Linked DNA regions of Homo sapiens: region 1 is linked to region 2. The links are contacts of gene promoters, found by promoter capture Hi-C in human tissues and cell types (Jung and others, 2019). All regions are on one chromosome and are shown on one strand. The core of a region is centred on a gene start or on the middle of the fragment in contact, and the rest is flanking DNA. Distances in the headings are between cores, read along the strand shown.

The links. Contacts are between HindIII fragments. The study calls those that stand out against the background at their distance.
Region 1: a contact is called between the fragment with the promoter of ZBTB4 here and the fragment with the promoter of CHD3 in region 2, in 1 of the 25 tissues and cell types used here (heart left ventricle).

What each region holds. Positions count from the first base shown.
Region 1 is chr17:7,478,225-7,481,995 of GRCh38, reverse strand. ZBTB4 (zinc finger and BTB domain containing 4) reads left to right here and starts at 2,365. Exons shown (of 4, transcript NM_001128833.2): 1 at 2,365-2,540. It overlaps SLC35G6 (solute carrier family 35 member G6), which reads right to left and starts at 550. Exons shown (of 2, transcript NM_001102614.2): 1 at 477-550; 2 at 1-8. The coding sequence starts at 479. RefSeq lists silencers at 2,009-2,268, 2,289-2,748, 3,009-3,058. The HindIII fragment of the contact is 10,425 bases long and covers 1-3,771 here.
Region 2 is chr17:7,886,358-7,890,419 of GRCh38, reverse strand. CHD3 (chromodomain helicase DNA binding protein 3) reads right to left here and starts at 1,631. Exons shown (of 40, transcript NM_001005273.3): 1 at 1,320-1,631; 2 at 644-756. The coding sequence starts at 1,419. RefSeq lists an enhancer at 630-1,199 and a silencer at 2,609-2,768. The HindIII fragment of the contact is 8,044 bases long and covers 186-4,062 here.

The DNA.
Region 1 (3,771 bases), core at 1,116-3,615, 410 kb after region 2:
CTGCCAGCCTGTTAGGGAGAAAGGAGCTCAGGGTAGACAGCAGCCGCAGCCCAGGCGACCTGGGGCAGGGCAGATGCCAGGATGGGGTCTGGGACCCTGTGGGACTGTACAGTGTTGGGCTATCTTGCTGAGGAACTCTTCGGAGCTAGAAAGGGCCTAAAAGATGAGTGAGATGTTATAATGTGGGCCTGGAGCAGGAAGCAAGGAGTGAGCAGTCCTGGAGCATCGTTTCCCTGGGTAAGTTGTTCCTGGGAGGAGAAAAAGGACCCAGGATGCTCTCTCGGATTGAGGAAGGGGAGGAAGCCTCAGATGCTATGCATCTGTATGATGCCACAGGTTCCAGAGACATCTGGGTACACCATTATGAATTCTATTTGTGGGTATCTCTGAGACAGCTAAGTTTTAGGAAAGGAGGGGAAATGGAGCAACCAGGAGCTATAGGGAGGGAGTACTAGGCCCCTGGCCCCCACACTCACCATCTTTCCTTGGACTTTCTCCTCTCCTCCTGGCTCAGGGAGCCTGGGCCCCTCAGAGCTCCAGCCATTGTGACATGGTTGGAGTGGGGGTGGGGTTCTTCCCTGGAACTCTCCTGAGGTGGTAGCACGCCTATTTTCCCGCTGAGTCCAACTCTGCTTCTTTTCTTTCTTTCTTTCTTTTTTTGTTTGCGACGAAGTTTCCACTCTTGTTATCCAGGCTGGAGTGCAATGGTGTGATCTCATCTCACTGCAACCTCCACCTCCCAGATTCAAGCGATTCTCCTGCCTCAGCCTCCCAAGTAGCTGGGATTACAAGAATGTGCCACTACACCTGGCTAATTTTTTTTTTTTTTTTTGGGACGGAGTTTTGCTCTTCTTGCCCAGGCTGGAGTGCAGTGGTGCGTGCAATCTCGGCTCACCGCAACCTCCACCTCCTGGGTTCAAGCAATTCTCCTACCTCATCCTCCCAAGTACCTGGGATTACAGGCATGTGCCACCACACCCCGCTAATTTTTTATTTTTCGTAGAGATGGGGTTTCTCCATGTTGGCCATGCTGGTCTTGAACTCCTTACCTCAAGTGATCCACCCCACCACCCCCCGCCTCCCAAAGTGGTGGAATTACAGGCATGAGCCACCGTGCCCAGCCCAACTCTGCTTCTTTTCTATTTATGTCTCCATGACTCCAAAGTTTGTCTGATTCTTTTATTCTTTTTATGGCTAGCTCTGTGGCTTTACATTAATTTGTTTATTTATATCTTGCATGGTTTCAGAGAGGTTTTTTTGTTGTTGTTTTTTTTTTGAGACGGAGTCTGTCTCTGTCGCCCAGGCTGGAGTGCAGTGGCGAGATCTCGGCTCACTGCAAGCTCCGCCTCCCAGGTTCACGCCATTCTCCTGCCTCAGCCTCCCGAGTAGCTGGGACCACAGGCGCCCGCCACCACGCCCGGCTAATTTTTTTGTATTTTTAGTAGAGACAGGGTTTCACCGTGTTAGCCAGGATGGTCTCGATCTCCTGACCTCGTGATCCGCCCACCTCGGCCTCCCAAAGTGCTGGGATTACAGGCGTGAGCCACCGCGCCCAGCCTCAGAGAGGTTTTAAGGCAAGGAGCTGTGAACCCTGGCTCCTCCATCTCCTTAGTTTTTAATTTTCCAGCACCAGGGAGGAGTTCTTGGGATTGTCCCTGTGGAGTTTCAGGAATGTGTTTTTTCTGTGTGTGCTTCCACCTGGTGTTTTGTTGATGCTGTCCCCAGAGGCCGACACCAAGGCCTCTGCATTTATGTTCAAGTATACAGATGTGGATCTATCTGCTGGTGGGGACAAAGTACCCAGCCAGCTTCATGTGTTCATTTGCGCTGGTGGTCGTTCGTGTGTGCCCCGTATGCAGGGCCAGGGCCTTCTTTTTCCGCGGCCTGCTGAGCTTTCCTGCGCATTCCTGGAGAGGGTGTGTGTGTGTGTCCAGGGCTGGCCCTCTTTGAGTGTGCCGACCCTGGGTCTGTGAGTCCCACCGGGCCTGATTATGAGTCTGCCATGTCATGTCTGCACCCTGAGAGCCTGTGTGTTATGCTTTCAGGCAGTGTGCACCGCTGAGTGAAGGGCGTGCAGGAGGAAGGGCGGAGGGAGCCCTTTCCCTGGGGGTCGGTGGTCTTGCGCCCCTGCCGGGATGCTGCAGCCCGGCCCGCGCCCCGCTCGGTGTCCACCCGCCCGGTGGCCCAGCGCGGCGCAGTGTCATGCCGCGGGGGTCAGTCCTGGGGAAGGCCGTCGGGCGCTCGGAGCTTTGTGTCGGTGTCGGCTGCGCTGCGCCGGCCTCCTCTCGGCGGCGGCGGCGGCGGCGCTGGGGGGGGACTGTTTCCGGGGGTGGGGGTGGGGGTAGGACCGGGGCGGGGGGAGCCGATGATGTCAGCGGCGGCGGCGGCGGCGGCAGCGGGGCCGGGCCGGGGCCAGGCGCTGGGGGGGCCAGGGCCGGAGCTGGAGCCGGAGCCGGAGCTGGAGGCGGGCAAAACCGGAGCGGCCGGGGGCGGCCACGGTGATGAGCCGGGCCTGGCGGACGCGGCGCCATCGCAGTCAGGTGGGCCCTGGGGCGAACTGGGCAGGGCCAGGGCGGACCGGAGCCAACTGCCAGGCCCCCTCTCCGCTGCCCGGCGCTGCGGGAGCCCCGACCGCGCCCCGCGCCCAGACCGCTCTCCTTTGGGGTTGACCTGGGGGCGCAGGGGTCGGGGGCTGAGCCTGGCCCCGCCCCCGGGCGCGCACGACGCTGGGGGGCGACTAAGGGGGCCCTGGTATGGCGTCCGAGCGAGGGGCGGCCGTGGGACGCGATCGCCTGGGGCCGTGGAAGGGGAGGTGCTCACTCCCTCTTTGAAGGGTTAATTCTGCAGCCTAATGGCCCCCTCCCCCCGTGGGGCAGATTGGGGGTGGGGTGGGGCGGGTGTGAGCCCGGGCAAGCGCTGCAAGCTGCTGGGAGGGTGATGGCGTAGGAGCCAGGCAGAGAGGGGGAGGGGTGGGCCGCCGAGCGCCCCAGAGTTGGGGTGTGCGGGGTGCGCAGGGCGAGCTGGGGCCCCGGAACCGCCGCGCCGTCGGGGCAGGGTTGTGGCTGTGAGTCTTGGAGATCGTGTGTCTTGTGCTGTGTGGTGGGGCAAGGTAAACCTCTCCTGGGCACCACCGTTTGCTGGCAGCCAGGGGTCTGGGTAGGGCCCTCCCTGGGCCATGGAGATAGAAAGCCAGGAAGGGTGTCCAGTGTTGTGGGGCAGAGTTACAAGACGAGCCCTGTGGCTTTGGGTGACAGATGGGTATTCTGAGCAGGGCACAGCATGCTGGGTGCAGAGTTTGTTCGATGTGGGGCTGTATGTTTTCTACAGCATGTGTTTTCTCGCATGTGTGTCTTGTGCTGCACCTATGACCTGTTTATGAACTGTTTTCTGCAGAGCTGGCATGCTGTATGTGTTGCGGAGGGTGCCAGGATGCAGTGTATGTGCCCTTTTGGAGGGGGCGGTTGTGGGCCTTTGAGTCAGAAGGCGTCACGTCTGGGTCCCATTTCTGTGGCCCTGCTGAGGTGTGGTCCAGTGGTGAAGAGGGCGATGGATGGGTTTGCGTGTCTGTGATGAGCGCGTTGCATGGGGGCTGCGCGTCTAGAACTCAGATCCCAAAGATCATGAGAGGAGCGAGGAACCCCGGGGTATGTCTCAGGGGCCTGTGGGTCAGTTGGCACTGGTGTGAGGGGCTCGAGGTGGAATGCGCCAGTTGTGTTTATGGGATCATGGGCAGCCAAGCGAGGGGAAGGTTGTGTGTTTGCAACATTCTCC
Region 2 (4,062 bases), core at 382-2,881:
TCTTGCTCTGTCACCCATGCTGGAGTGCACTGACGTGATCTCGGCTCACTGCAACCTCCACCTCCCGGGTTCAAGCGATTCTCCTGCCTCAGCCTCCTGTGTAGCTGGGATTACAGACGTACCACCGCGCCCGGCTGATTTTTGTATTTTTAGTAGAGACGGAGTTTCACCACATTGGCCAGGCTTGTCGCGAACTCCTGACCTCAAATGATCTACCCGGCTCAGCCTCCCAAAGTGCTGGGATTACAGGCGTGAGCCACTGCAACCGGCCTTTATCTACTTTTTACAGATGAGGAAACTAAGGCACAGAGAGCCAAATAAACGGCCTGGTATCCTAGACAGAGGAATGCTGGACTCTTGAATTCATACAGTCTTCCAGAGCTTGTGCTTTCAACTGCTTCTCTTTGCTGCTGAGGACACACTGACAACGAGGCTCTTCACTAGGTTGCAGTGAATGAAGTTAGGGTCCCAGATCCCTGAGATACAGGCCAACAGTGGCAGGGAAGTGGGGGGCCCGGGGGATCAAGCCTCCCTGGCTTCAGAACCCCACCCCCACACCAGTAATCAGGACCAGAGAAAATGTAGGTCTCTGAGAATGGGTCTCTTGAGCCTTGCCACAGAGTTAGGAATTCTTGACACTTACACGCTTCTTGCGTTTTCGGGGTTTTCCTGGCTTGTTCTCCTTCTGCTTCTTGGGTCCTCGTTTTCTCTTCTTCACACCCAATGCTGACGGCAGCAGCCGAATGTCATCCTTATCTTTGAAGCAAAAAGCATCAGAAAACCTAAGCCTCTAGGTTTCCAGCCTCTGAGGCCCCTCAACTTGCCCCTTCCCCACCTCGGCAGTTCCCACTCTCTAGGAAGCATTAACTCCTCCAAGCCCTGCCTCCCTTCACTGGATGCAAACAGAAAGTGTTTCGAGTACTCTGGGATGCTCTGGTTCTGAATGGGAGGTCAGGGGTCAGAAGAGAAGAGCAGCCAAACCACTCCCCTCCCTCCCCTCCTACTAACAAGAGACCAGGCTCCAGGCCATGGGCTCTGACTGTGGCAGGTCCTTTCAGTCACCGCCAGGGCTCCTCCTGCCTTCCCCCTCACTTCGCCAGCTGGCATCCTGCCCAGGAACTGGGGAAGCCATGCCCAGCTGCTGGCCTGGCCTGACCCCAGCACTTGGAGTGGGGAGACACAAGCTGGCAGCTCCCTAAGCCAGATGCTGGGGAGGGAGAGCCAAAGGTGGACACCTGGGTTCTCACACTAACACCCTGGGGCCCTGACATCCTTTTGCCAAGAGGGAGGCCTCTATTTACATTTCCTCGGATAATTACCAGGCATCCTGTCACCCCAACACAGTCCTGGAGGAAAAGAAATCCTCAGCTGGTCATTTTTACTTCTTGCCCACAGGATCACAGTGTCTGCCGCCTTCATCACACAGGAGAAAGTCTCCACAATTACCTAAATATTCCTCCTCCCAAGTAGCCTAAAACCTACCTTCAATTCTATTCCCATCTCCCTGCTCCCTTTGGGAACTAGGGGGCCATACCCTTTGTTTCCCGATCTCACCCTTCACCTCCATATTTTGTTCCAGATATCCTGACCCATTCATCTATACGCAGTATGGGAGACCCAAACAAAGATATAGGCACAGACAGACACACCCAGCATATGCCTTCTCAAAAGCACGCGCGCGCACGCGCGCACCCACACCCACACACACTCTCAGGCCCACAAATCCAGAGGATGGCCTGTACCTGCTTCAGCAGGGATAGGTCCCTGGCTTTCTCCCCAGATGTCTCTGCCAGAGGACCCCAGGCCCCCCACCCCATTATCTGTGAAGGTGTCACTCTGTGAAGGCTTGGGGAACGGAACGGAGAGTTACCCCACATAAAGGAAGACAGGATGCCCCACAGACCTGGGGCCCTGGGGCTCTGGTTCACGTCCCTCCCCTACCAAGCACTAGACTAACCAGCCAGACCTGTCTAGTACAGAGAGAGGCAGCCGATGCAAGATGGGAAAGCCTGGGCTTGGCCCAGCCCCTAGCTCTAGGACACACAATCCTTTCTCCTTCCCTCAACAGCCAACGGAAAATTAGCCACAATTAACACCAGAGGCCTCCGTTTCCACTGCCTCAGAGTCGCTGCCTCGCCTTCCTTCAGTGCCACCTTTCCTGCTAACTCCAGCATCCTGTGTCCCCTTGTGCAGGAAGACACTCTAGGACTGTGTGCGTGTGTGCAGGGGGGTGGCTGCCAGAGCCCGGGTGTGAAACGGAATGGGGACTGTAATAGGAAGTCAGCAAGGAAGGCGCCATGCCCCAGCAGCCGGCTCCCCCTGGCCCCAGGGACTTCGGTTGACTTGAACATGGAAACGCAGGCTGCCGAGGCAGTGGCAAGGGCAGGCCAACTGGCTAAGGTTCAGGGACACGGCCTCGGCCACCACCAGCCAGGGGTGGTGCACAAGCCGGTTCACTCTACTCCCCACCCCAGCGGGAGGTTCCCGAACTTGGGCAGGCGTCGGTGGCGGGAGAGGCAAAGCGAGAACGGCAAGGAAAAGCAAGGAAGGGTAATAAAGCAAATCTAAGTCCCAACCTCGGTCTCAGCAGCCACTCAATGCTGGCCTGGAGCCCAGACTCTCCCACATCCCCGGCTCGGATCTCAGGGAGGCAGGGAGGAGAGAGGCGGGGGCCGGAGGGCGCAGGGCGGAGCCTGGCCGCCCGAGCAAGCGGGAGGAGTCTCGGCCGAAGCCTCGCCTCCCGCCCGCCCCTCTCTTCTTCTAATCTCACCATCAATCTCTCACACATATATTTATTTTTTCTCAAATTCCCCTCCCTCCCCCACAACGCACCACCATAATAGGTCTGCTGCACATGCGTACTGCAGGCAGGGGGTGGGTTTGTATTTTCAGACCTTTTGCAAAGAAACTACCAGAATTTTCCGCACCACCCACAATCATTCCCCACCCCCACCCCCAAGGAATCACATCTATATATTATGTTATATTATTTCTCTCGACTTGCCAGAAGGGGGAGGGAGAAGAAATGAGTTTTTGGCTTCCTGCTCCCTTCCCCCACCAACACGACTGCTATTATTTTAAACGTTTAACAATGTAAGGAGACTGGAGAGAGGGGGAAGGGATAAAATTGGTCTTGAGTAAGAATGTAAAACAAAATGGTGAGAATCAAAGCAGTCGGAATGGAAAACAATGGAAATCTCTCCTGTGCACAAATGCATACTCTAGACAAGGAAGAGCGAGGGCAGCCTGAACAAATTTCCTTAGAGGAGGGTTCTTTTCCCCACACTTAGGTAGACAGAAATAATGAGTGTGCTAAAAATAATTTCCCGAAGTTTTACCTCCGAAAGTCATCTGAGGGGGTGTATCTGGGTCACTCATTCGACTTGGAGGGCTGAAAGGGAGATAAAAATTGCCCAGGGGGAGAGGGGAGGTGGGTTTTCATTTCAGTTGTAAAATGTAAGCAGCCTCTGACGTCTCTTCTGGTCTATTCAGAAAGCCAAGAGGGAAAGGGGAGGCCGGGTTGACACAAAGACCCATCTCAACCTCGGATCCTTTCACGCTTCTCTCCCCAACGTACCCAGATCCGGGACCCACACCACCCCACCCCAGACTCCAAGTCCCAATACAAATAGGTGAGCGCTGCCAAGCCCCTGGCAGGACCTGACGGCCTTTCTTTCCCTCTTTTCAGCGCCTCTGCCGGAGGCAACCCCAAAGGCACCCTCTCCCCACAACTCCTCATTCCTCCTCCTCCTGCCAAGGCAGGGGGCTCTCTGGGAGAACTTTTTCAAAACTTTACCCTTTTTCAGACAAGCTTGGGGGGCGGGGAGACTTTATCCAGTTTCCAGGAGACACACATCCCTCCCCGACCCACAAGAAAGCACCCCCCGCTCCCCCAAAGGTCGTCTCGGCTAGACAGGAACGTTTGCCACAGAAGCCACACGGATCAATATGACAGTTTTACAAAGAGCCCGGAGTTGGCCGTTTTGAAGTTTGGTGCATTTGTGCCGCATGGCAGCCAGAGGCCCGGGGGTGCGGAGGTCCCCCTGCTGTTCCCCAAGCAGG